Linked DNA regions of Homo sapiens: regions 1, 2, 3, 5, 6 and 7 are each linked to region 4. The links are contacts of gene promoters, found by promoter capture Hi-C in human tissues and cell types (Jung and others, 2019). All regions are on one chromosome and are shown on one strand. Each heading gives the region's core, a stretch centred on a gene start or on the middle of the fragment in contact. The rest is flanking DNA. Distances are from core to core; before and after follow the strand shown. Region 1 overlaps MMP24-AS1-EDEM2 (MMP24-AS1-EDEM2 readthrough). Region 2 overlaps ITCH (itchy E3 ubiquitin protein ligase). Region 3 overlaps UQCC1 (ubiquinol-cytochrome c reductase complex assembly factor 1). Region 4 holds the start of NCOA6 (nuclear receptor coactivator 6). Region 5 overlaps MMP24-AS1-EDEM2 (MMP24-AS1-EDEM2 readthrough). Region 6 overlaps ITCH (itchy E3 ubiquitin protein ligase). Region 7 has its middle 17 kb from the start of ITCH.

Region 1 (3,667 bases), core at 676-3,175, 360 kb after region 4:
TGCACGCTTGTAATCCCAGCTACTAGCAGGGGCTGAGGCAGGAGAATCTCTTGAACCCAAGAGGCAGAGGTTGCAATGAGCTGAGATCTCGCCACTGCACTCCAGCCTGGGCAACAAGAGCAAAATTCCATCTCAAATAAATAAATAAATACATAAATAAGAAAAAAAAGACTTGCCGTTCAGCTATAGGGGGAATAGCCAGCAGATAGCTTCCGCTTGCTTCAGTTCTTTCAATGTCTGCCTCAGCTGTAGAGGACAGTCCTGCACAAGATCATGCCCATCCCAGGGCTGCCCTCACTCGGTGCCTAAGCAAGGCAGGGGTATAAAAGTTCGGTCATTTTGGCCAACTGCAGGACAACTCTGAGAATAGGTTGGATTGACAAGGGCTAGCCAGGGCTGGAAATATTCACTCCAGAGCTCCCTGCCAGGGAGGCTGGGTCTTTGTCAGATCTGCATTGCCGTTTGACTTCTCTCTTAGCTCAGCCCTACTTCTTCCCCCTGGTAAGCATCTTGCACCTCAAACTCTGTCTCAGCCTCTGCTTCCAGATAACCCAACTTGTGTGTGTGTGTCTCTCTCTCTTTCAAAATTGAGAAATTTTCTCAATCTTGTCTGGACCATGGCAGCAGCCTCCTCCTAAGAAATTGCCTCTAATTTCTCCATATTTTAATTCATCTTCTACATGGCAGTAAGAAACACAGATCTAATTGTGTCATTATTCCGTTTTTTGTTGTTGTTTGTTTTTTGTTTTTTGTTTTGTTTTGTTTTGTTTTGAGACAGAGTCTCTCTCTGTCACCCAGGCTGGAGTGCAGTAGTGTGAACTTAGCTCACTGCAACCTCTGCCTCACAGGTTCAAGCAATTCTCCTGCCTCAACCTCCCGAGTAGCTGGGATTACAGGCATGTGCCACCACGCCCGGCTAATTTTTTGTATTTTTAGTAGAGTCGGGGTTTCACCATGTTGGTCAGGCTGGTCTTGAGCTCCTGACCTCAAGTGATCTACCCGCCTTGGCCTCACAAAGTGCTGGGATTACAGGCGTGAGCCACCACGCCTGGACTGTTTTTTAAATTTCTCATTGAGTTAAATTCAGAATCCTCAAAATGACATTCAAGGCCTTGCACAATGTGGCCCCAACCTAATTTTCTAATTTAATTTTAATTTAATTTTATTTTATTTTATTTTGAGATGGAGTCTCACTCTGTCACCCAGGCTGGAGTAAAGTGGTGCGATCTCTGCTCACTGCAACCTCCACCTCCTGGGTTCAAGCTATTCTCCTACCTCAGCCTCCCAAGTAGCTGGGATTGCAGGCATGTGCCACCACGCCCGGCTAATTTTTGTATTTTTAGTAGTGACGGGGTTTCACCATGTTGGTCAGGCTGGTCTTGAACTCCTGACCTCATGATCTGCTCTCCTTGGCCTCCCAAAGTGCTGGGATTGCCGGCGTGAGCCACTGTGCCCGGCCCCTCAAATTTTATTTTCTACCATTTCTCTTTAGCCACTGTGCCTTAGATTATTTATTTTAAAAGCATATTTTTAAATGACGGAAGTGGTACAACAACAGCAATAACAGAGAAGTTTACAAAGAAATTTCATAAAGGAAAAACGGAACGCCTCCTGCTTTCTCATTCTCCCCAAATCCTTACTCCAGAGGTATGCTAAGATTATTAGTTGCAAGCAACAGAAACCAATTCTGCCAACTTAAGGGGAAAATAAGTATATTGGAAGGTTATTAAGTAATCCTCAGAGTTGATGGGAAAGCCAGATAATCAAGCTCAGAAAGTAGAACCAGGGACCACAGCCAAAGTCACACCACAGGAATGGTATTAAGGATGCCACAGCTGGAAGCACTACCTCCATCACCAATGCTGCTGCCATATTAAAGGAATTCTCCTCTGACCCTGTGTCTTTACATCATTTGTTCAAGAGTCAATATCCTGAGTGGAAGCAGCCAAATGACCAAGCCTTGATCATGTTGCTTTTGCCTTAGCTGCAAGTGCAGGGGGGAAAAGGAAAACTTTAGATACCTTTGACTTCTCTTGTGGGAGGTGAGAACCTGTCTCCCATTAAGACTCACACAGAGGAAGAGATTTCAGATGCTGGGCAACCAAAACAGGTACAGGTGATTTTAAAGAATTGATGCAAATGAGAAGCCTGGAGATCAGTAGCCACTGCTGTATTTACTAACTCTACATATATTATCTTTTTTTTGAGACAGACTCTTGGTCTGTTGCCCAGGCTGGAATTGGTGGCACGATCATGGCTCACTGCAGCTTCAACCTCCTGGGCTCAAAAAACAGAACAAAAGAAAAATAAAATAGAAAAGCAAAAACAACAAAAACCCATAAATGTTCACTATATCTCACATCATTAATTTATTTACTCGTTTAATAAATGTTTGTCAGAAACTTCCATATAGAAGGCTTTATGTTATGTACTTTGGAAGACACAAAACGATTAGGATATGATCCTTCTCAAGGAGCCCAGTCTTTTCTTGGGAAGATAAAACATACAAAAGAGAACAACACAAGGCAAGATGCATTGTATAACTAGAAGAAACACACAAATAAAAATGTGATGTTATGTGGCCGGGCATGGTGGCTCACGCCTGTAATCCCAGCACTTTGGGAGGCTGAGGTGGGCAGTTCACCTGAGGTCAGGTGTTCGAGACCAGCCTGGCCAACATGGTGAAACCGTCTCTACTAAATATACAAAAATTAGCCAGGCATGGTGGCACGTGCCTGTAGTTCCAGCTACTCAGGAGGCTAAGGAAGGAGAGTAGCTTGCACCCAGGAGGCAGATGTTGCAGTGAGTTGAGATCGTGCCACTGCACTCCAGCCTGGGCGACAGAGCGAGACTCCGTCTCAAAAAAAAAAAAAAAAAAAAAAAAAAGGAAAGAAAGAAAGAAAAATGTTATGCTCTGATTTACTCTTGTAGCTATCATTTACATATTGCTATATAGTTTTTGGAATTCTGTAACTTGCGTTTATCATTTAATACTCTCTTTGGTCTTGTAAGATAGATATAATCATTTTAGATTAGGAGACATGTTTAGGGAGAATAAGAAAGTTAATAACTGATATGGTTTGGATGTTTTGTCCCTCCAAATCTCATGTTGGAACGTGACCTCCATTGTTAGAGATGGGCATAATGGGAGGTGTTTGGGTCATGGGGGCAGATCCCTCATGAATGGCTTAACACCATCCTTTAGTGTTGAGTGAGTTCTTGTTCAGTTAGATTACACATGAGATCTCGTTGTTTAAAAGGATCTGAGACCTCCCCTCCTCTTTCTTGCTTCCTTCTGTCTCATCTTATATGCCTGCTCCCCCTTTGCCTTCCAACATGATTGAAAGCTTCCTGAGGCCTCACCAGAAGAAGATGCTGGTGCCATGCTTCCTGTACATCCTGCAGAAGTGTGAGTCAAAAATAAACCTCTTTTCTTTTATAAATTAGCCACTTGCAGGTATTCCAGTATAGCAGCACAAGAATTGACTAATATAGTATCAGAGCTAGGATTCAAACCCGTGCCTTTGTGTTCTAGGATTTATGCTTTCTCTCCTCTACTAAAACTGCAGGAATCAGAGGAATCTAGGGGAGAAACATGGTATTTGTGAATTGGTGAGATATGACCATGCCCAGATAGGAAAGATAGACAGAACAGATTCAATAATGA
Region 2 (4,143 bases), core at 947-3,446, 450 kb before region 4:
CTAACTCACTGATTTTTCATGGCTTTGTTGACATCACAATATATGACTGATATCAGAAATATCTTATAATAAGGCTTCGGCCGGCCGCGGTGGCTCATCCCTGTAATCCTAGCACTTTGGGAGGCTGAGGCGGGCGGATCACGAGGTCAGAAGATCGAGACCATCCTGACTAACATGGTGAAACCCCGTCTCTACTAAAAATACAAAAATTAGCTGGGCGTGGTGGCGGGCGCCTGTAGTCCCAGCTACTCGGGAGGCTGAGGCAGGAGAATGGTGTGAACCTGGGAGGCGGAGCTTGCAGTGAGCCGAGTTCACGCCACTGCACTCCAGCCTGGGCGACAGAGTGACAGAGGGATACTTTGTCTCAAAAAAAAAAAAAAAAGGCTTCATAATGTCTGATGCTTTATAAATGAGAAACCATGTTATTTTAAGTTCTACTTTTTTTTTTTTTTGAGAGGGAATCTAACTCTGTCACCCAGGCTGGAGTGCAGTGGCGCAATCTCAGCTCACTGCAACCTCCGCCTCTCGGGTTCAAGCAATTCTCCTGCCTCAGCCTCCTGAGTAGCTGGGATTACAGGCACCCGCCACCATGCCTGGCTAATTTTTTGTATTTTTAGTAGAGATGGGGTTTCACCGTGCTAGCCAGGATGGTCTCGATCTCCTGACCTCGTGATCTGCCTGCCTCAGCCTCTCAATGTGCTGGGATTACAGGCATGAGCCACCGTACCCGGCCTTTTAAGTTCTACTTTAAACATTGGCACTGAGAGACCTGTAGGAAACGTAAGTATAGAAAGTTTAAGTTTGTAATATTTGACAAGGATCTGTTGAGCTGCTATTGTGCTAGGTTCCAAGGGGTACTCAAATATAAAACTCCTGGTTTAAGGATTTTGTCAGGAAAACAGACTTCCTTGCCAGTGATTGATTATTATAAAAAGGAAGTTGGTAAATGTTACAAGAGTTTCATTGCATTGCAATTTAAGAAATTAAGTTCAGATTTTTTGGTTCCTTTAACATGATTGAATGTATTCCTTTTTTTTTTTTTTTTGAGACGGAGTTTTTCTCTTGTTGCCGAGGCTGGAGTGCAATGGTGCAATCTCAGCTTACTGCAGCCTCCACCCACTGGGTTCAAGCGATTCTCCTGCCTGAGTCTCCCAAGTAGCTGGGATTATAGGCATGTGCCACCACGCCCAGCTAATTTTGTATTTTTACTAGAGATAGGGTTTCACTGTGTTGGTGAGGCTGATCTTGAACTCCTGACCTCAAATAATCCACCTGCCTCGACCTCCCAAAGTTCTGGATTACAGGCATAAGCCACTGCACCTGGCCAAATGTATTTTTTTTTTTTTTTTGAGGCAGAGTCTTGTTCTCGCCCAGGCTGGAGTGCAGTGGTGTAATCTTGGCTCACTGCAACCTCCGTTTCCTGGGTTCAAGCCATTCTCCTGCCTCAGCCTCCTGGGTAGCTGGGATTACAGGTCCCTGCCACCATGGCCAGCTAATTTTTATATTTTTACTAGAGATGGGGTTTCACCATATTGGCCAGGCTGGTCTCAAACTCCTGACTTCAGGTGATCCGCCTGCCTTGGCCTCCCAAAGTGCTGGAATTATAGGCATTCGGCCTAACATAATTGAATGTATTTTAAGTGCTGCTGTATGCTAGACATTGCAGGGACTTATGGTGAAAAAGCAATCTCTGCCCTCCAGCAACTCGCATTTTTTTTTTCCATGTCTGGAAATTGCTTACCCTAATAGATCTATCCTTCTGTCCCAGAAAAGAGAAGAATTTTAATACTATGTCGTCACTTACAGGTTAAGAATTCATCTACATATTGAGCTTAACTCACTCCAGAAATATCTACTAACTTGCTTGCTTTCTGAGAAAATGTTTATTATTTTACTGGATTCTGCAACCTTTTCTTTGTCAGTTACAAGAGAACATTTTTTTTTTTTATTTTTTTTTAAGATGCAGTCTTGCTTTGTCGCCAGGCTGGAGTGCAGTGGCACAGTCTTGGCTGACTGTAATCTCCGTCTCCCAGGTTAAAGCGATTCCCCTGCCTCAGCCTCCCATGTAGCTGGGACTACAGGTGCCCACCACCACGCCTGGCTAATTTTTTGTATTTTAGTAGAGACGAGGTTTCACCATGTTGGCCAGGATGGACTTTTTATTTTTTATTTTTTTAAGACAAGATAAGCTCCAGAAATAACCATCTGCATTTAGGTGAACTTTGATTTGCTTGTTAGGCCTTCATTCGTGCAAAGAAAGAGTAGGTTCTACAATTTTGTCTTGATTATTTTTCCAAATAATCAAATTTAGTTGGTCACAAAGGAAAGGATTTTAGTCTAAAGGATTATATTGTAGGAGTTAACAGTATTTACTGGAGTTAGGTTGATTTTGAATTTTGACTCTACTGTGTAGTGGTGGTATGATCTTGGCCAACTTGCCTAACTTCTTTTTGCCTTAGTTTTCTCATCTGTAAATTGGGAATAGTAATAGCATATATACATAGGTATTATGTGTTTCTGCTTGAACAAGACTTGGCTCACAGTGTGAAGTGTTAGTCGTTGTTTTCATTATCATCATTACCATCAACCTTATCTTTCTTAAAGTTATGATCTGAGTTCATAAATCATTCAGTAAACCTATTTAGGCTGAGCATTGTAAATTTAAATGCCTGCAAGGGCTGGATGAACATTTAGTAAGTAATGACAGATCAGACTGGGACTTTAAGTGAACTAGGGAATTCATTCCCCTCCAAGGGAGCAGCTGTTAAAGCAGCTTTGGCTTACAATTTTTTTTTTTTTTTTTTGAGACAGAGTTTCACTTTTGTTGCCCAGGCTGGAGTGCAGTGGCATGATCTTGGCTCACTGCAACCTCAACCTCTGCCTCCCGGGTTCAAGCAATTCTCCTGCCTCAGCCTCCCAAGTAGCTGGAATTACAGGTGCTCTCCACCACGCCTGGCTAATTTTTTGTATTTTTAGTAGAGATAGGGTTTCATCATTTTGGCCAGGCTGGTGTTGAACTCCTGACCTCAGGTGATCCACCCGCCTCGGCCTCCCAAAGTGCTGGGATTACAGGTGTCAGCCACCACGCCTGGCGTGATTTTTTTTTTTTTTTGAGACAGAATCTCGCTCTTGTTGCCCCAGCTGGAGTGCAATGGCGCAATCTTGGCTTACCATAACCTCCGCTTTCCGGGTTCAAGCAATTCTCCTGCCTCAGCCTCCCAAGTAGCTGGGTTTACAGGTGTGTGCCACCACGCCTGGCTAATTTTGTATTTTTAGCAGAGACGAGGTTTCTCCATGTTGGTCAGGCTGGTCTGGAACTTCCGACCTCAGGTGATCCGCCTGCCTCGGCCTCCCAAAATGCTGAGATTACAGGCGTGAGCCACCGCACCTGGCCTTTTTTTTTTTTTTTTTTAATGGAGGTAAAAGTAAGTATGTGAGGTTATGTATATGTTATTTAGCTCGATTTAGCCATTCCACAACATGTACATATTTTAAAACATGTTATGGGCTGGTCATGGTGGCTCATGCCATAATCCCAGCACTTTGAGAGGCTAAGGCAGGAGGATCTCTTGAGGCCAGGAGTTTGAGACCAGCCTGGATAACATAGTGAGACCCCATCTTTATTTTATTTCAATAAATAAATAAAACCTGTTTTACATGATAAATATATACCTTTTTTGTCAATTAAAATAATTTAAAAATACTACTTAAGGTCTTGGGAATACACTCACAATGTATTGGTAGTTAAAATTTTTTTTTTTTTTTTTTTTTTTTTTTTTTTTTTTACCAGTTGCTGTGGCTCACTTCTATAATCCCAGCACTTTGGGAGGCCAAGGTGATAGGATTGCTTGAGCCTCGGAGTTTGAGACCAGCTTGAGCAACATAGCGAGATCCCGTCATTATATTTTTCAAAATTAAAAAGGAAAGTTTTCAGAAGGTTAAAAAAAAAATTGAGGCAAAATTCACTACTTTAAAGTGTACAATTCAGTGTTGGCTTACTATTGACCTTGGGGAGAGTGCAGACCATGTGCAGACTGAACATCTTAATTTTTTTCTAAGGAGAAGCTAGAAATCAAGATTTTGTAAGAAATTTTTATTGTTAAATGTTGGCAACTTATGAATTCATAGTGTAAACACTGTGGG
Region 3 (3,692 bases), core at 691-3,190, 500 kb after region 4:
GCCTGCTTTCCCAGCATGTCACAGGGAGGGAGCACTCAATAGGAGGCTTGGCTAAATGAGCAGCAGGTCTCAGCTGAAATGGGGAGGGGAGTGAGGCTCATGTAACACACTCAATAAATTATCCGTTCATTTTTAAACAAAGTCCATGAGTTATAATATATTTGCCATGCACTTTTTATGACATAATAAAAATGTTACCTTAAGGATTACTTAACACATACTACAAATATTATAGCAGAGGCAGGCACAAGGGGCAAAGAAAACAAACACGAGCAGGCCAGGGACGGGTCCTGGAGTTTATGTCCCAGGGGAAACAGCATAGTATATTAAAAAGGGAATGCAAAAAAAAGGAAGGGATGCAAGAGTTCAGGGTTACTAATCGGCAGATTAATGAATGAGACAACCAACAGAGAACACAAGTAAGGCAATAATGAATCTTGCAGGGCACATGTTTAATTAAAGTAGCATTCTCAAGGAGGAATATTAGCTTTAAAGAGATGCCAGTTCATTTGAGGCCAATTCGCTGCTCTCTTTCCCCTTTTCACTGTTGCTGCCTTAAAGATATTTATGTGACTGCTTAACAGAGGAACCAGACTATGTGGATACAGGGACTGATGGGAGATCAAGTTTTAACTCCTCCATGGACTCTACAAGGCTTCTAGTGATCTGCTCTTGGCCATCTTTTTTGCCTCCCCTCCTCTTGCCTCCCCATCTTACTTCACCCTGCAGTCAGTAAAGTATGTGCACAGATACATCATGCTGTCATCTATTTCTTAGTCATACTGCTGCCAGGAATTCTTCTCTTCTTTATCCACTGATGGAAGGGATGCTAACTCCTTATCCTCTAAGACTTAGCACACATATTTTCTCTACTAAGTCTGCCCTCTCCCCCATCTACAGGTGCCCCAAAGTGATTCAAGTCTGGAGACGGGTCCCATCATTCATTATTTACCAAGTGCCAATAACTGTGCTACAACTTTACACATTAGCCCACTTAAACCTTCCCAAGGACTCTAAGAGACAGGAACTGTTACTGTCTCCACTTTAGAGAAGAGGAATCTGATGTTTGGGAAAGTTAAAGCTAGACAGCTAGGAAATAGTGGGGTCAAGATAAGAATACAGAGCAATCCAACTCCATTGCCTACCTGTGTTGGAATAGACACTGGAAGGAATGTAGCTGCCCCTTCCTGTGCCCCACAGCTCAGGCTATCTGCAGAGGCAGAACTAAGAAATGCTAATGTGGTCTTGAGTAAACACAACTCAGAGATTCCAGTTCCAGTGGCAGCTAGAGACAGCCACCAGATGGGTCATCAGTGGCCGGTTACTAATACATCAGATATCCCTAGTAGAGCCAAGCTCCACTCCTGGGAAAACCTGAGGTTGAGAGTGGGTGTAATTATGGTGGGGGAATGGGAAAACAGAAGAAAGTTGGTATGGAAAACACTGATGAGCATGAAGGTGAGAATAAGCTTTAAGGTTACTGGCTTGAAGCAAAGTTGCTAACAGTAGCAGACTAAGAATTTGCTGGAATGAATGAATGACAAAGGACAGCTAGAGTTGCTGGCTGAAGCCTAAGGACTATATCAAATTCATCATAAGGCAACAATGCAACACAAGATTGTAGGTCATGTTTTAGTTTGCTGTAGTAGACAGTAATGCCACCACCAATGCTTTGCAGTGCCAACGCCATGTTCTACAGTCATTGTGCGGCAACAGGCTGATGTGCACTGAACATCAGCTAGCCTATTTAAAGTTCAGGTTAGAAATTAGCCCACTGTGGAATATTTTGTGAGATACTTAGAAACAGAGTAAGAGTAGACAGACAAGAGAGACGGGGGACATGGAGAGACCAAATAAAAAAGTCTACCTGTTAACTCACATGCATTACGACTGAAAGATCTATTGAGGGTCTTTTAGCAATGATGACAAAATACAAACAAAACTGTGTGTGTGTGTGTGTGTGTGTGTGTGTGTGCGCGCGCGCGCGCGCACGCTCAGGCACGCATGCATATTGAGCAGTTCCAGAAAAAGTTGTTAATACCAAGAATAAAAAGAAAAATATTTTAAATGAAAGACAATTTCTTTTTCTCTTTTTAGAAAATAATGTGAACATTTAAATAGAGTATGTTCCCGTTGCGATGAAAGGCCAACCTAAACCCAGCATGAGGAGGTCCATTTTAAAATCCATTTTAAACATTTCAAACTTTTAATGTACAAGGGAAGCTTGCTATGATGACATGCTGTTTAAAAATATTCCCTTATTGGCTGGGCAAGGTGGCTTACGTGTATAATCCCCATGCTTTGTGAGGCCAAGGCAGGTGGATCACTTGAGGCCAGGAGTTCAAGACTAGCCTGGACAAAAAAGTGAGGTCCTGTCTCTACAACATAGTAATAATAATACAAACCCCTTTCTTATTTATTTTGAAAATTCTAGTTTTGCTGCTTGGGATCTACATGTTCAAGACTGCATAGCCTGATAATGTGCTGAAAAACAAGGGACATGGTTGGCAGACAGAATTGCAGAACCAGCAGCCCTAATTTCTATATAGTCACGAAGTACAGGAGTCCTTCCCTCAGGCTTGGAAAATAGCCAAGAGAGAAGAGATGTATGTCCTCAGAAATTCTAGTCATTTGTCCAGTTGAGAAAACATGAGAACACATAATATTAAGTCCACAATCATCTTCAAAAGGAGCTGATGAGGTACACTACGGTTCTGGGATGATCAAACTACCATGGCAATTTAACTTTCGTCTCTTTTAGGGCATTTGAATAAGGGGAACATTATAGCTATAATCTACTTTGGTTTCTGGAAGCTTTTTGTAGTATTCCACATGACAAGTCTCATGCATACTCATTAGAGAAGCCAACACCTGGCTTGAAAGAGTCGCAGTTTCAACAACAGCACTGATGGTGCGGAGTCCTAAAGGAAATAATCCTGGGTACTATCTAAAATCCGTACTGATAATAATGATGACAGTGATGGTCGTAACAATGATTACACAATGCATTTAATAATATTTTCATTTTATTATCTTATTTGTGCCTCACAACCACAACCCTGCCCTCGAGGAGCTCACAGCCAAAATGCTATTGTTGTCCTGATTCTATAAACAAGGAAACAGAAGCTCAAAACTGTTAAGTGGCCAGGTGCGGTGGCTCACGCCTGTAATCTCAGCACTCTGGGAGGCTGAGGTGGGCCGATAACCTGAGGTCGGGAGTTCGAGACCAGCCTGGCCAACATAGTGAAACCCCATGTCTACTAAAATACAAAAAATTAGCTGGGCATAGTGGCGCATACCTGTAGTCCCAGCTACTCAGGAGGCTGAGGCGGGGGAACCATTGAACCCGAGAGGCAGAAGTTGCAGTGAGCCAAGATTGTGCCACTGCACTCCAGCCTGGCAACTGAGCAAGACTCTGTCTCAAAAAACAAAAACAAAAACAAAAACAAAAACGTTAAGTCACTTGTAGTCAAATCACATCCTGCTTGTAAGTGACAGTGCTGGGACTTTTAACTCAGATGGTCAGTCTCTAAATCTACTGTCTTTTCTTTTTTTTGAGACGGAGTCTTGCTCTGTCACCCAGGCTGGAGTGCAGTGGGACCATCTCGGCTCACTGCAAGCTCCGCCTCCCGGGTTCACGCCATTCTCCTGCCTCAGCCTCCTGAGTAGCTGGGACTACAGGCGCCTACCAC
Region 4 (4,133 bases), core at 1,371-3,870:
TCCATCACTAAATCTGATTTCTTAACGTGCTGATAAACAAGTATATGCATATTAGATTTGTATATTTTGGAAACTGTATTTTAATATAATTGGTGTTCCTTATAATTCAATGTACTTTATTTTATACAATTAAAAAATATTATTCTGAAAGGGGTCCATGGCACAGATAAGGTCAGGTCTTCCTGCATTAGAAAAACCCAGAATAGGCTGGGCGCGGTGGCTCACGCCTGTAATCCCAGCACTTTGGGAGGCTCAGGTGGGCAGATCACTTGAGCTCAGGATTTCAAGACCAGCCTGGGCAACATGTTGAAACCCCAACTCTACAAACAGAAAAAAAAGAAAAGAAAAGAAAAGAAAAACCCAGAACAAATGAATTGTGTTGCTGTATATACATATGGTATTGACAGTTTTATTTTATATATGCCCGCATAATATTTTTGTTCGCTAATTCTCTTTGATTATATGGGGCCCTGGACCTATTTTCCATGACTAATTTGCATATTTCCTTCAGAACTCTCCCATAGCCCATGCGAACTTTGAATTCTTCTCTAACATGATCCAACTTCAATTAATAAAATAGAGACTCTGGGTGTCTACAATTTTTCACTTTTCTTTTTTAGGATTTTGTGTTCCTTTGTGGTAAACACCTAGAAGAGAAGGAGCATCTCTCTTTTTTTTTTTTCTTTAGACAGTGTCTTGCTCTGTCGCCCAGGCAGGAATGTCATGGAATGACCATAGCATGGCTCATTGCAGCCTTGACCTCCCAGGCTCAAGCGATCCTCCCACCTCAGCCTCCTGAGTAGCTGGGACTACAAGTACAAGCCACATCAGGTGGCTAATTTTTTTTATTTCTTTTGTAGAGATGGGGTCTGCCAGCTCCTGGGCTCAAGAAATCCTCCCACCTTGGCCTCCCAAAGTGTTGGGATTACAGGCGTGAGCCACTGTGGCTGGCCGGAGCACCTCTTAAAACTCTAGAAAGTTAGAAGGTCTCAAAGATAACTTCTTTGCACAATTAGAGATGAACCAGGAAATACCAAATAACTGGCTGCCTATACTTTTTTGTATTCCCTTCAGCCTTTGTATTGCCACACTCATTACAGGAAGAAAACAAATTTAATAGTTATCTGGTATATACTGTTATGCTTCATTTCTTGTTGTTTTTGTTTGTTTGCTTTTAGTTTCATCACAAGAATGTTATGCTTCATTTCTTAACACCTTTCTCCCAGCTAGCAAATTCCTTTAAGGCAATGTGTTTAGTGAGGAAGCAGCCGACAATTTCTAGTACCCCTCTGCCACTAACTTGTAAGATCTTGAAAAGTCAACTTTACCTTTCTATGTTTCAGCTAAAATCACTACCTGATTTGAAATCTTTACTTGATCTCTCAGGCCTTTGTAGTTTTTATACATTCACTCTTCTTCACCATTTTACTGGCTTCAATAACGCCTTTCTGATGACCTCTCCAGGTGACTCTGCTCTTAAGCTGTGGGCTGTCCCCTTCCAGGGAAGACACCTTGGGTCACCGCCCCCAAACAGCCAGGTCCCTCCTTTTAAAGACACACACAACTCCCTAAGTTGATAAAGGTTCTCTCCTTCCTTGCCAACCAGTTCCACTCTCTGTGCCTCTTTTGCTGGCCAGCTCCTGCACCCAAACCTCAGTCTCCCTTTGTCCCCCTTTTCTCTCATCAAACACCTCCTTTTTCCTGTTGCTTCCCCCAAGAGGGGGTGGAGGATGCTTGGGACATAAGTCTTCAGAGCCTTGGGAGTTATACAGCTTTGCAATTCAGCCCCAGTACCCCAAGGACTGCCCCAATCTGAACCAGCGTCTGTACCCAAAGGGCCCTCATTCCTCATCAATCACCTCCTTCCCTCCCAGCAAAGAACTGCTCCAGCCCTGACAGCCTGAGCTTGGCCCCCATGCCTCCACCCCAATCCCCAGGTCCTACCTGCATTAGGGCTCTAACACCGCCTAAGGCCTAACCCAGTTCCACGTCCTGCCATCCTCTCAGCCCATAGACCCCAATCCCGGTTCCCTTCGGACCCAGTGTTCCTTCTCCGCGACCCTGACCACGACCCCACGACCGGCTCCCGCCTGTTCCCCAGGCCTGGAGCGCCACCCCGTGCAGACCCCGGCCAGCCCTGCACTCCCTCAGTGCACCGGCCCCCGCGCCCAGCACCCTCCCCACCCAGCCCGGCCGCCGCTCCCTCCAGCGCCCCCGCCCGCAGGCCTGGGGCCCGCTCCCCAACATGGCGACGGGGACACAAGCGCGGCGGGCGGGGCGGCTCCGGGCCGGGCCCGCTCTCAGACCGTGCCACTCGGTCGCCCGGCGCCATTTTTCCGCGCGGGCCCGGGCGGCGCCTCCTCCCCGCGAAGCCAGCCCGACAAGGACCGCGGACGCCCGGCGGGCCCACCCCTTACGGGCCCGCGCCGCCGTCCCCTCACCTGAGCGCGGCCCCGGCCCTCCCGGGCGGGCCTTGGAGCGCCGGCCCGGGCCGTGCGTGCCCGCCGCCCTCGGTGCGTCCGTCCGTCAGTCCTCGCGTGCGCCCGTCTGTCCCGCCGCCCGCGCCCGGCCGCCCGCAGCCCGACCCGGCAGGGCCTCACGGAGCCGGCGGGGAGGGGGATGGGCCGGACCGGGCCGGGGAGGGAGGGGGAGGGAGGGAGAGAGGGAGGGAGCGCGAGAGGGGGCGGGGCGGACTCGAGGGGCGGGGCATTGCCCACGTGACCAGACGTCCCCGGGAGCGCGAGGTGGAGCGCGCGCCAGCTCCCTTCGGTGCTGAGTGCTTAGTGCTGGGATCTCGTGGGTCTCTGTCGGCTTTCCAGGGCTATTCTCTCGCCAGTGAGTCCCACTTCGGAAGCACACATTGCACAGTCTTTTGCGAGCGCTCTGAGTATCCTTGGACATGGCAACTCCAAGCCTCAGTTTACCCATCTGAAATATGGGGAAAATCATAGTGCTTGTGAAGAGCAAATGGAGGTGGGCTTGGAAAGCACTTGTCACCGTGCCTGACACATACTGTCTAATAATAAGCTTAATGGGATATAGATAAAAGCTTTCATTATTATTTGCCTCTAAATCCCTCTCTTCTTTTTCCCATCATTACCTCCCTAGCAAGCTAAAATGCTCAGTAAATAGAATTATTGATCGAACGAGTGTGGCCCCTCCCCTCTTCCCAAACGTAGAAAGGCCTCCTCAGCACTGGACTTCATGTCTGTCATACAGGCCTGGATTCATATCTGGCTTTCACTCTTTTTTAAAAATTTTCTGTTTTTTCCCACACTACACTGATGTATTTTTTAAATTTTCGTAAGTACGTAGTAGGTGAATATATTTATGGGGTACATGAGATTTTGATACAGGCATGCGATGTGTAATCACATCATGGTAAATGGGGTATCTAGCAACTCAAGCATTTATCCTTTGTGTTACAAATAACCCAATTATACTCTAGTTATTTTAAAATGTACAAGTAAATTTTGTGTGTGTGTGGTTTTTTTTTTGTTTTTTGTTTTATTTTTGTTTTTTTGAGACGGAGTCTCACTCCGTCGCCCAGGCTGGAGTGCAGTGGCGCGATCTCAGCTCACTGCAACTTCCGCCTCCCTGGTTCAAGGGATTCGCCTGCCTCAGCCTCCTGAGTAGCTGGTACTACAGGCGCATGCCACCACGCCCAGCTAATTTTTGTATATTTTTTAAGTAGAGATGGGGTTTCACCATATTGGCCGGGCTGGTCAGGAACTCCTGACCTCATGATCCGCCCGCCTCTGCCCCTCAAAGTGCTGGGATTATAGGCGTGAGCCACCGCGCCCGGCCAATTGTTTTTTACTGTAGTCACCTTCTTGTGCTAGCAAATACTAGGTCTTATTCTTTCTAACTATTCTTTTGTACCCGTTAATCATTCCCACTTCCCACCTACCTCCCCATTAATCTTACCAGCCTCTGGTAACCCTCCTTCTATTCTCTATCTCCATGAGTTCAATTGTTTTAATTTTTCGCTCCTGGCCCGGCATGGTGGCTCACGCCTGTAATCCTAGCACTTTGGGAGGCCAAGATGGGCGGATCACCTGAGGTCAGGAGTTCAAGACCAGCCTGGCCAACATGGTGAAACCCTGTCTCTACTAAAATACAAAAGCTAGGTG
Region 5 (3,818 bases), core at 1,026-3,525, 420 kb after region 4:
TGGGATGGGAGTCCAGCCCTCCCATTAACATTCCATGTGACCTTGGAGACAAGTTGCTTAACCCTTCTGGACCTCAGTTTCCTTATCAGTACAGTGAGGGGTTGGGTTATAGATGGGGTCTTAAATCCCCTCTGGCTCGAATAATTTATCTATGGGTCACCCTCTGGAGTTCCCTGCAACGTGCATGTCTCACAGAATACAGAAAACGCTTGAATGATAATGAGTTGGCTCCACTTTTTCCATTTACCAAACATGTGCTGGGTGCCTGCATGTGCCTGTCATCCGGCCCTCCAGAGGCTCACCATTTAGTGACAAATACAGTCATCTAGCCACACCAGTCTAGAGCTCAGAAGGAAACAATGAGTTTTGGGGAGACACTTAGGAGGTAGTAACACTTAGGAGGTAGAAAAAAGCCATGAGGATGGTCCCAATCACTCAAGGAGAATGTAAAGATTCACGGGCAGGGTGCTGGGGATGGAACCCCACAAAGCCAGCCGAGAAGGGGCAGCCGGAGGGCAAGAAGCCTGACGTGATGATGTGATGCAATGTCATGATGCCACATGGTGTGGGGTGGTCAGTGGGGCCAGCCACTCCAGAGCCCTCCAACAGGAGCATGGCTGAAAGTTGTCTGCTGGGTTTAGTGACAAAGAGCTTGTTGTTAACCTCAGCAGAATGGTGGAGATGAAGTCAGACTGAAGTGGGGAGAAGCGGAGGTGAGGAGAAGAGGTGGCAAGTGGAGGGAAGACATTCAAGAAGCTTGACAGGGAGGTGGGGAGAAATGGGTAGCAGCTAGAGGATGAAGTTTTGTTTGTCTAAGATAGGAGAGAGTTGAACAGCCTTAAACTTGCTTAAGAAAGCTATGAGAGTTGTTTAAGAAAAGCCATTCACATCATTAAAGCATGGAAAAGAACAGGAGTGAGTTTCCTAAGGAGGTGGGAAGGGAGGGGAACCTGAGGCAGGTGGAAGATGCTAGCAGGGCTGGGTGAGGATCCAAGGGAGTTGGTGGGGGGAGGAACAGGAAATGCACCCAGTTGTGGATCAAGGATCAATTTGACGTAAGTCACTCCTGGACAGAATCATCTCTCTGGGTCTCAGTGTGTTCATTTGCAAAGGAGGGTGTTGGATTATGGCTCTAAATTCTAGATTCCCCCCCCCTTTTTTTTTTTTTTGATGAGATGAAGTCTCGATCTGTCACCCAGGCTGGAGGGCAGTGGCGTGATCTCGGTTCACTGCAACCACTGCCTCCAGGGTTCAAGCGATTCTCCTGCCTCAGCCTCCCAAGTAGCTAAGATTACAGGCATGTACCACCATGCTGGCTAATTTTTTTTGTATTTTTAGTAGAGATGGGGTTTCACCATGTTGGCCAGGCTGGTCTCGAACTCCTGACCTCAGGTGATCGGCCCACCTCGGCCTCCCAGAGTGCTAGGATTACAGGCGTGAGCCACCGTGCCCAGCCTAGATTCCATTATTTTAAGCATCTAAGCTTTTAAAACTTGGCAAGTCTGGGGTTTTAGGATCCTAAAATCCTGTGTGAACATTTCCCATTCCTAGGATTCTCTGATTATGAGTGTGAACTTCTTCTCCTGTGCTGTTGTGAATACAGTGGACTCCTTGGCCCCGTGGTCTCCAGAGTGGGCTGGTTAAAGAGAGCCCAGCCGCCTTTCAAAGCGGAGGTTATTTTGAGGGCTTTGCACAGGCCTCATGGCAGTGCATCCTGGGGCAGAAGCACTGGTGTCTCTGCTGCGGCACCACCTGGCCTTGGGTTTTACTCTGTTCCAAAAAGCCCCAGGCCTGTTGGATGGCGCTCAGAGAGTGGCAGGTGGATGGTGAAAGGAGGAGGCAGCGGGAATGATCCGAGGGAAAAGGATGGCATTTCCCACTTGCAGTTCTGCCCACACCTCCTTGTAGAAGGCGGGGGAGTTGTGGTCTGGAAGCAGGGGAAGGAGGAAGCCAGTTGCACTTATTAATCCAAGACCTGAGATGGGGAGTGTTCAGGGTAGAATTTAGAGCCCCAAGATGCAGCTCCAGCTCTGTGACCTTGGGCAATGGCTGCCTTTCTCTGAGCCTGTTTCCTCCCCTAGGTGCCTTTGGGTCTAACTCAGTCAGAGGTGGTTCTTGGTTCCCTTCCCAGGGACTGTTAATTAAAGGAAGCTAGATTAGCCATTTAAAGTCCTATGTTTGAGTGTCGCCTTGGGAAATGTCACACATTTATTCATTCACTCATTCATTTGGTCAACAACATAGTTCCTCTAGCTCAGCTTTGTGCTAAGCACTGACAGGAAAAAATAAAAGCTCCAGGCTTTGTTAAATTGCATTAATGAATAGTTCATTTTTTCATTCAACTAAGTTCCAGTCCTGCCTTGCTGATTTCTGTGTTTTGCAAGGTACTGGATTTATCTGTGGATTGTTTCCCTCATCTGTGAAATGGGAATAATAATTTCTTTTTTTTTTTTTTGAGACGGAGTCTCGCTCTGTCGCCCAGGTTGGAGTGCAGTGGCGGGATCTCGGCTCACTGCAAGCTCCACCTCCTGGGTTCAAGCCATTCTCCTGCCTCAGCCTCCCAAGTAGCTGGGACTACAGGGGCCCGCCACCACGCCCGGCTAATTTTTTTTTTTTATTTTTTAGTACAGACGGGGTTTCACCATGTTAGCCAGGATGGTCTCGATCTCCTGACCTCGTGATCCGCCCGCCTCGGCCTCCCAAAGTGCTGGGATTACAGGTGTGAGCCACCGTGCCTGGCCCGGGAATAATAATTTCTGTTACCTCACAGTGTTGTTTTGAGAATCAAACTTTTTTATTTTATTTATTTATTTATCTATTTATTGAGACAAGGTCTGACTCCCCTCACCCAAGTGTACTGGTGTGATCTTGGCTCACTGTAGCCTCAACTTTCCAAGCTCAGGTGATCCTCCCACCTCAGCCTCCCTAGTAGCTGGGACTACAGGCACATGCCACCATGCCTGGCTAATTTTTTGTATCTTTAGTAGAGATAGGGTTTTGCCATGTTGCCCAGGCTGGTCACAATCTTCTAGGCTCAAGCAATCTCCTGCCTCAGCTTCCCAAAGTGCTAGGATTATAGGTGTTAGCTACTGCACCTGGCCAAGAATTAAACATTTTAAAAGAATGTGCTGGGCGCAGTGGCTCATGTCTGTAGTCCCAGCACTTTGGGAGGCCAAGGTGGGCAGATCACCTGAGGCTAGGAGTTCAAGACCAGCTTGGCCAACATAGTGAAACCCTGTCTGTACTAAAAGTACAAAAATTAGCCAAGCGTGGTGGTGCGCGCCTGTAATCCCAGCTACTACTCAGGAGGTTGAGGCAGGAGAATTGCTTGAACTTGGGAGGCAGAGGTTGCAGTGAGCTGAGATGGCACCACTACACTCCAGCCTGGGCAACAGAGCGAGACTCTGTCTCAAAAAAAAAAAAAGAAAGAAAGAAAGAGAAATACCTGAAACTGGGTAATTTATAAAGAAAAGAGGTTTAGTTGGCTCAGGGTTCCACAGGCTTTACAGGAAGCATGGCTGGGGACGCCTCAGGAAACTTTCAATCGTAGTAGAAGGCAAAGGGGAAACAAGCACATCATCATATGGCAGGAGCAGGGGGAAGAGTGAGAAGGGGGAGGTGCTCCACACCATTAAACAACCAGATCTCATGAGAACTCACTCACTATCAGCAGAACAGCAAGGGGGAAGTCTGCCTGCATGGCCCAATCACCTCCCACCAGGCCCCGCCTCCAACAGAGACACAAATCAAAACATATCACCTGGTAACAAACAGATATCAGGATTTACGTAATTTCAGGCACTGGGCTACCTTCTTTT
Region 6 (3,759 bases), core at 521-3,020, 320 kb before region 4:
CCAGCCTGGGCAACAAGAGCGAAACTCCATCTCTCAAAAAAAAAAAAAAAAAGACAAGTAGTACTGGAAAATAAAAGAACAGATGAGAAAGATAAATAATAGACTTAAGTATATGTGATAACAAAAGGAGGGAAGTAACCTAAATAAAGTATGAATAATACACCTGCAAAAATAAATTATAGATGGTCAAGGTGGAGAAAAATGAGGTAGATCTTAAAAGCATAGTATCAGAATATATCTCCTGTCATGAAATTCTACTATAGGCCAAGGCTCTAACATGTAAAAAAGCCTCGGAGACCATAACATTTGAAAGGTGGCTGAAAATAGGAACATAGGTACAAAAGTCTACACAGAAGTTGTATGGTTTAGGGACAGTGTCAGAGTTTTTAATATTTGATTTTAAATCTATTAAAAGCAATTCAGAATCCTTTCTGTTACATACTAATGTGCATTATTAAATGAAACTCCTTTCCATCTATGTAGTTAAATATGCTGCTAGGTATGGTGGGCACACATCTGTAGTCCCAGTTATTTGGAGGCTGAGGCAGGAGAATTGCTGGAGCCCAAGATTTCAAGCCTGTAGTGCACTATAACTGCTTCTGTGAACAGCCACTGCACTTAAGCATGGGCAACATAGTGATACCCTGTGTCTTAAAAAAAAAAAAAATTTATAAAAAATGAAATGTGACCAGGTACAGTGACTCACACCTGTAATCCCAGCACTTTGGGAGGCCGAGACGGTTGGGTCACTTGAGGTCAGGAGTTCAAGACCAGCCTGGCCAACATAGTGAAACCCCATCTCTACTAAAAATACAAAATTAGCCGGGTGTGGTAGTGGGCACCTGTAATCCCAGCTACTCGGGAGGCTGAGGCAGGAGAATCACTTGAACCTGGGAGGCGGAGGTTGTGGTGAGCCAAGATTGCTCCACTGCACTCCAGCCTGGGAGACTCCGCCTCAAAAAAAAAAAGAAAATGCTATAAAATATTGAGTAGAGGGTGGACATGATGGCTCATGCCTGTAATCCCAACACTTTGGGAGGCCAAGGTGGGTTGATCACTTGAGGCCAGGAGTTCAAGACCAGCCTGGCCAACATGGTAAAACCCCATCTTTACTAAAAATACAAAAATTAGTTGGGTGTGGTGGTGCACATCTGTAATCACAGCTACTCTAAGGCATGAGAATTGCTTGAACCCAGGAGGCGGAGGTTGCATTGAGCCAAGATTGTGCCACTGCCATCCAGCCAGGGTGACAGAGTGAGACTCTGTCTCAAAAAATATATATATTGAGTAGAGAGAACATGCAGAGTGAGTTAATTTTAATTTATGTGTTGAACACCACAGAATAATTTTAACTGTGTTTTTTTATAACGTTTCCTATATTACTGGACTTTTTACATAACTACTTGTGAAAACAATTCAGTGTTATTAAATACAAAAGCACTAACAATTTATATTGGGTATACTTAGTATACAGGGTTTAGTCAGGTGGGACATGAGAAAGTTCTTTGTGTCTGACAGTGTCACACATTACAGAACAGTTAGCGTTCCTGCCCCCTTCTAATTAAAATATCTAGTAGCATTACCAGTCATTGAGACCAACAATAAATGCTTCCTAGGGAAAAGTAATGATCTTTTAAAAAACTGGTGTTTTTATGATCACTTTTCACAGCTATCTCCAGCAGCAGGTAAATGAGGGGCAAGTATTTTATGTTTATACTTGTATCTGTTTTTGTAAGGGTATGCCCTACAGGACCTGTAAGTTCCAGCATTAATAATATGGAATTCACTAGGATATTTACATTTCACAAAGTTTTATTAATTCTGTATTTAAATCAAGTTTTATTGTAGTTTCGTTATTGTCTTTCAAACTACTAAAATTAAGCTTTTTGTGTGTTCTTGTGTAAGCTTTTATTAATCATAACAATGTGTTATTCCGGCTAAAGAATGCTAGATGAAACTGCATTTTCTCCTTTGGGACTTATATTAACAAACTATAGTCTTCAAACTTTTACACTTACCAGAATCACCCGGAAGCTTGTTAAAGCACATATTGCTGAGCCTGACCCCTAGAGTTTCTTTTTTGTTTGTTGGTTGCTTTTGGGTTTTTTGGGTTTTTTTTTTTTTTTGGTTTTTTTTTTTTTGGTTTTTTTTTTTTTTGAGATAGGGTCTCGTTCTGTCACCCGGGCGAGAGTGTAGTGGCGCAATCTTGAGTCACTGCAACTTTGCTGCACAGATTCAAGCAATTCTCCTGCCTCAGTCTCCTGAGTAGCTGGGATTACAGGCATACGCCACCACACTTGGCTAGTTTTTGTATTTTTAGTAGAGATCAAGATTCACCATATTGGCCAGGCTGATCTTGAACTCCTGACCTCAAGTGAGCTGCCCACCTTTGCCTCTCAAAGTACTGGGATAACAGACATGAGCCACCACACCTAACCCAGAGTTTCTGAATTAGTAAGATGATGTGTGGGGCCTGAGGATTTATGGTTCTAACAAGTTCCCTCATGATGCTGATGCTTGTTGGATTGGGGAACACAGTTTGAGATCCACTATACTAACAAACTGTTTATGATTTCATTATGTTTTAGGGAGCAATGGACCACAGAAATTCTGCATTGAAAAAGTTGGGAAAGAAAATTGGCTACCCAGAAGTCATACCTGGTAAGTACAATCAGAATGGATAGAGAAAACAGCTTTTGTCCAGTTATCTGTAGCTATTTAAAGCCAGCTAGAAATTAAAAATGATATTTAGTAGATTTACAGAATAGCACAGCCATCATAGCAATCCAGTTTAAGAGCATTTTGTTCACCCCTGTATGATTCCTTACAACTATTTGCAATCAATTCCTTTTTTCACATCTGAATTTTTTTTCTAATGTGGGATTTAGAGTTATTTTAACTTTTCTCTGAGGGCAGCAAAAGAAAGTTAGGAGACCTACTTTCTAACATCATGACCACAAATATTCTCATTTGAAATCTAATTACATTTCTAAAAATGTAGAAAACTAAATCTAATCCTAATCTGACAGCAAATATATTAATATTTTGGAATTCAACCTAATGTCAACAATATTTGAACCTTATTTTGTGGGATATATTTTAGTGGTCACATATGGTCCTTCCTGGATATCTGACCTCTTTACTGTTTTACTAATGTCTATTCCTTTTTGTTTTTATACATAATGTTTTGTACATGCATGTAGTGTTTAAGTAACAATTTTATTGATATATAATTTACAGATTATAAAACTCACCTTCTTAAATTATGCAGTTCGGTTCAGTGGGGTTTTTTTGTTTGTTTGTTTGTTTGTTTGTTTTTGAGACAGGGTCTCACTTTGTAGACCAGGCTGGAGTGCAGTGGTTTGATCTCAGCTCACTGCAACCTCCGCCTCCCAGGTTCAAGCAATTCTCTTGCCTCAGCCTCCCAAGCAGCTGGGATTACAGGCGCCCGTGACCACGCCCAGCTAATTTTTGTATTTTTAGTACAGATGGGGTTTCGCCATGTTGGTCAGGCCGGTCTCAAACTCCTGATCTCAGGTGATCCACCCACCTCGGCCTCCCAAAGTGTTGGGATTACAGGTGTGAGCTGCCGCATCTGGCCTGTTCAGTGATTTTAGCATATTTATGAGGTTATGTAAGCATCATTACTGTCTAATTCCAGAATTTTTTCACCCTCCCAAAAATCCATGTACCCATTAGCAGTCACTCCCTTTTTACCCCGTGTAGCCCTTGGTAACCACTAATCTACTTTCTGTCTCT
Region 7 (3,773 bases), core at 1,052-3,551, 480 kb before region 4:
ATTGACCTTATTTCCAATGTTTACCTATTACAAACATTGTTATGACAAATAACCATGTTCATCAGTTATTTTGTTCATTGCACATTTATCTAAGAGATAAATTTTTAGAGATGAAATGGCTAGGAACCACTGGCTGGTTTTTCTTTTCTTTTCTTTTCTTTTCTTTTTTTTTTTTTGGCGGGGAGGGCAGACAATCAACGTTCCCAGGTTGAAGCCTTTTTTTTTTTTTTTCTTAGACAGGGTGTCGCTCTGTCACCCAGGCTGGAGTGCAGTGGCAGGATCATGGCTCACTGCAGCCTTAACCTCCTGGGCTCAACCAATGCTCCCATTTCAACCTCCAGAGTAGCTGGGACGGCAGGCACATACCAGCACACCCAGTTAATTTTTGTGTATTTTATAGAGACTGGGGTCTCCCTATGTTGCCCAAACTGGTCTTGAATTCCTGGGCTCAAGCGATCCTCCCTCCTTAGCCTCCCAAGGTGCTGGGATTACAGATGTGAGTCACGGCGTTTGGCCGAGGCCTTATATTTGAAGACATCTTTATTTTATTTTATGTATTTTATTTTATTTTTGAGATGGAATCTTGCTGTCGCCGGGCTGGAGTGCAGTGGCGCAATCTCTGCTCACTGCAAGCTCTGACTTCCTGGTTCAAGCGATTCTCCTGCCTCAGCCTCCCGGGTAGCTGGGATTACACGCACGCACCACGCCCAGCTAATTTTTTTGTATTTTTAGCAGAGACGGGGTTTCACCATGTTGGCCAGCATGGTCTTGAACTCCTGAACTCATGATCCGCCCCCGCCTTAGCCTCCCAAAGTGCTGGGATTACAGGCGTGAGCCACTGCGCCCAGCCTTGAAGACATCTTTATAGAGGTATAATTGCCATACCATAAAATGCACACACTTTTAGTGTATAATTGAATGATTTATAGTAAATTTATTGAGTTGTACAACCACCATGACCAGAAAAAACAAACTCAGTTTCTCCCACTATACTCACAACAGGCCTCTGACACAAGATGTATAGGGGTTTTCCCCACACATCAGGCAATCAGTCAGTTCTGCAGTGGACACCAGCTGGGTGTTTTCTAGTCCAAATAAACTCTGATACTATCCACCTGAAAATAACACCAGGTCCCATAGGTTGAGTGCTCAGTCCCCAAGACTATCCTCACTTCAGATGCCAGTAATAAGTCCAGGCCTCCAGAACTTCAAACTAACCAGCCATAAATCAGGATTCCCACAACTCCCTCCCTGGGTTCCATTAATTTGGTAGAGGGACTTACAGAACTCAGGGAAACATATACATTACAAACGCTACAAATAAACAGCCAGATGGAGAGAACAAAGGGTAAAGTCTGAAAGGGTCTGGAGCACGGGAGCTTTTATCCCTATGGAGATGGGGTGTCACCTCCTCCTCCTGCGTGTGGATGTGCTCTCATTCACCTTCCTGGAAGCCTACAGGTGTTCAGCTATTTAGAAGCTCTCTGAACCCAGTCGCTTTGGTTTATAATGGAAGCGTCAGGCTGGGCCCAGAGGCTCACACCTGTAATCCCAGCACTTTGGGAGGCCTAGGCAGGTAGACCACCTAAGGTCGGGAATTCGAGACCAGCCTGGCCAACACGGTGAAACCCCATCTATATTAAAAATACAAAAATTAGCTGGTTGTGGTGGCAGGTGCCTGTAGTCCCAACTACTTGGGAGATTGAGGCACAAGAATTGCTTGAACCTTGGAGGTGGAGATTGCAGTGAGCTGAGATCACGCCATTGCACTCCAGCCTGGGAAACAGAGTGAGACTCTTGTCTCAAAAAAAAAAGCATCATTAGGTAAGCATGATTGATAAATAATTGGCCATTGGTGATTAACTTCACTTAGAGACCCTCCCTGGAGGTTGGGGGTGGGGCTGAAAGTTTCAACCCTTTGAACTAATGGTTGGATCCTCTGGCAGCCACTCTCCCATCCTGTGGTTATCTTGGAACTTTCCCCGAATCCTGTCATTAACATAAATTCTGCCGGGCGCTGTGTCTCACACCTGTAATCTCAGCACTTTGGGAGACCAAGGCGGGCGGATCATGAGGTGAGGAGATTGAGACCATCCTGGCCAACATGGTGCAACCCCGTCTCTACTAAAAAAAAAAAAAAAAAAAAAAAAACAAAAAACTAGCCAGGTGTGGTGGCACGTGCCTGTAATCCCAGCTACTCAGGAGGCTGAGGCACAAGAATCTCTTTAACCAGGGAGGCAGAGGTTGCAGTGAGTGGAGATCGCACCACTGCATTCCAGCCTGGTGACAGAGCGAGACTCCCTCTCAAAACAAAACAAAATATAAACTCAAGTGTGTTTGAAAAGGGATTGTTTTAAATAACAATATTTTTATCTTTCACCTTCTGGCACTGAAGCTATTCCAAGAGGGGTTTCAAAGATCTAGGACAAAAGGCCAAATATTTTAACAAAAGATTTTTTTTTTTTGAGACAGAGTCTCGCTCTATTGCCCAGGCTGGAGTGCAGTGATGCAATCTCGGCTCACTGCAACCTCCGCTTCCTAGGTTTAAGCAATTCTCCTGCCTCAGCCTCCTGAGTAGCTGGGACTGCAGGCATATGCCACCGCACCCGGCTAATTTTTTGTGTTTTTAGTAGAGACGGGGTTTCACCACATTGGCCAGGCTGGTCTCGATCTCCTGATGTCATGATCCGCCTGCCTCGGCCTACCAAAGTGCTGGGATTACAGGCATGAGCCACTGCGCCCAGCCAACAAAATATATTCTTATTGCTTTAGATACTTCCCTTATCCCCCAAGTTGGATTAAATGCTAGCTCTAGGGCTGGGCTCAGTGGCTCACGCCTGTATTCCCAGCACTTTGGGAGGCCAAGGCAGGTAGATCACTTGAAGTCAGGAGTTGGAAACCAGCCTGGTCAACATGGTAAAACCTACCTCTACTAAAAATACAAAAGTTGCTGGGCTCAGTGGCTCACGCCTGCAATCCCAGCACTTTGGGAGGCCGAAGTGGGCTGATCACGAGGTCAGGAATTTGAGACCAGCCTGGCCAGCATGGTGAAACCCTATCTTTACTAAAAATACAAAAATTAGCCAGGCATGGTGGCGTGTGCCTGTAATCCCAGGTACTTGGGAGGCTGAGGCAGGAGGATCGCTTGAATCCAGGAGGCAGAGATTGCAGTGAGCCGATATGGCGCCACTGCACTCCAGCCTGGCCAAAAGTGTGACTTTGTCTCAAAAAAAAAAAAAAAGTGGCCGAGCGCAGTGGCTCACGCCTGTAATCCCAGCACTTGGGAGGCCGAGGTGGGCAGATCATGAGGTCAGGAGTTCGAGACCAGCCTGGCCAACACAGTGAAACCCCATCTCTACTAAAAATACAAAAATTAGCTGGGCATGGTGGCAGGCACCTGTAATCTCAGCTACTAGGGAGGCTGAGGCAGGAGAATCGCTTGAACCCAGGAGGCGGAGGTTGCAGTAGCTGAGATCGCATCACTGCATTCCAGCCTGGGTGACAGAGCTGGACTGTCTCCAAAAAAAAAGTGCTGTTCCATTTGGAAGTCAAGGCTGATGCCACCTAAGTGGGTTCCTGCTATCCTGCTACAAGGAACTTGAAGACATCCTCTTTCTTCATTGGCAGGACATCAAGGGCTCTGGACATTGTGAAAGTTTCCCTTGAAGTTACAATGGGAATCCAGAACAACGTCACATGGACCCCTCCATGGGTAACACAGAAAGCAAATGGTGTCTTTTAAGATACAGAAAAATTTGAATTTTGATGGTTTC

What was found. Contacts are between HindIII fragments. The study calls those that stand out against the background at their distance.
Region 1: a fragment that was not itself captured here is called in contact with the fragment with the promoter of NCOA6 in region 4 in 3 of the 25 tissues and cell types used here (IMR-90 fibroblasts, lymphoblastoid cells and mesendoderm cells).
Region 2: a contact is called between a fragment that was not itself captured here and the fragment with the promoter of NCOA6 in region 4, in 1 of the 25 tissues and cell types used here (dorsolateral prefrontal cortex).
Region 3: a contact is called between a fragment that was not itself captured here and the fragment with the promoter of NCOA6 in region 4, in 2 of the 25 tissues and cell types used here (bladder and heart left ventricle).
Region 5: a contact is called between a fragment that was not itself captured here and the fragment with the promoter of NCOA6 in region 4, in 2 of the 25 tissues and cell types used here (lymphoblastoid cells and mesendoderm cells).
Region 6: a fragment that was not itself captured here is called in contact with the fragment with the promoter of NCOA6 in region 4 in 1 of the 25 tissues and cell types used here (lymphoblastoid cells).
Region 7: a contact is called between a fragment that was not itself captured here and the fragment with the promoter of NCOA6 in region 4, in 4 of the 25 tissues and cell types used here (heart right ventricle, hippocampus, lymphoblastoid cells and 1 more).

Annotation. Positions count from the first base shown.
Region 1 is chr20:35,180,114-35,183,780 of GRCh38, forward strand. All of the region lies in intron 4 of MMP24-AS1-EDEM2 (MMP24-AS1-EDEM2 readthrough), which reads right to left. It also overlaps a transcript of PROCR not described here. Among named protein-coding and RNA genes, the nearest start is that of PROCR, 9.9 kb to the left of the region's middle. The HindIII fragment of the contact is 9,419 bases long and covers 1-3,667 here.
Region 2 is chr20:34,371,947-34,376,089 of GRCh38, forward strand. The region is part of intron 2 of ITCH (itchy E3 ubiquitin protein ligase); the gene reads left to right. Among named protein-coding and RNA genes, the nearest start is that of ITCH, 11 kb to the left of the region's middle. The HindIII fragment of the contact is 5,475 bases long and covers 1-4,143 here.
Region 3 is chr20:35,319,310-35,323,001 of GRCh38, forward strand. The region is part of intron 7 of UQCC1 (ubiquinol-cytochrome c reductase complex assembly factor 1); the gene reads right to left. Among named protein-coding and RNA genes, the nearest start is that of FAM83C, 29 kb to the left of the region's middle. The HindIII fragment of the contact is 3,522 bases long and covers 180-3,692 here.
Region 4 is chr20:34,823,031-34,827,163 of GRCh38, forward strand. NCOA6 (nuclear receptor coactivator 6) reads right to left here and starts at 2,621. Exons shown (of 15, transcript NM_014071.5): 1 at 2,442-2,621. RefSeq lists silencers at 2,088-2,527, 2,538-2,727. The HindIII fragment of the contact is 14,831 bases long and covers 1-4,133 here.
Region 5 is chr20:35,247,152-35,250,969 of GRCh38, forward strand. The region is part of intron 2 of MMP24-AS1-EDEM2 (MMP24-AS1-EDEM2 readthrough); the gene reads right to left. The region is part of intron 2 of MMP24 (matrix metallopeptidase 24); the gene reads left to right. Among named protein-coding and RNA genes, the nearest start is that of MMP24, 22 kb to the left of the region's middle. The HindIII fragment of the contact is 6,147 bases long and covers 1-3,818 here.
Region 6 is chr20:34,501,743-34,505,501 of GRCh38, forward strand. ITCH (itchy E3 ubiquitin protein ligase) reads left to right here. Exons shown (of 25, transcript NM_031483.7): 24 at 2,589-2,661. Among named protein-coding and RNA genes, the nearest start is that of DYNLRB1, 13 kb to the right of the region's middle. The HindIII fragment of the contact is 4,977 bases long and covers 1-3,759 here.
Region 7 is chr20:34,344,138-34,347,910 of GRCh38, forward strand. No RefSeq gene overlaps it. Among named protein-coding and RNA genes, the nearest start is that of ITCH, 17 kb to the right of the region's middle. RefSeq lists a silencer at 180-343. The HindIII fragment of the contact is 6,422 bases long and covers 1-3,773 here.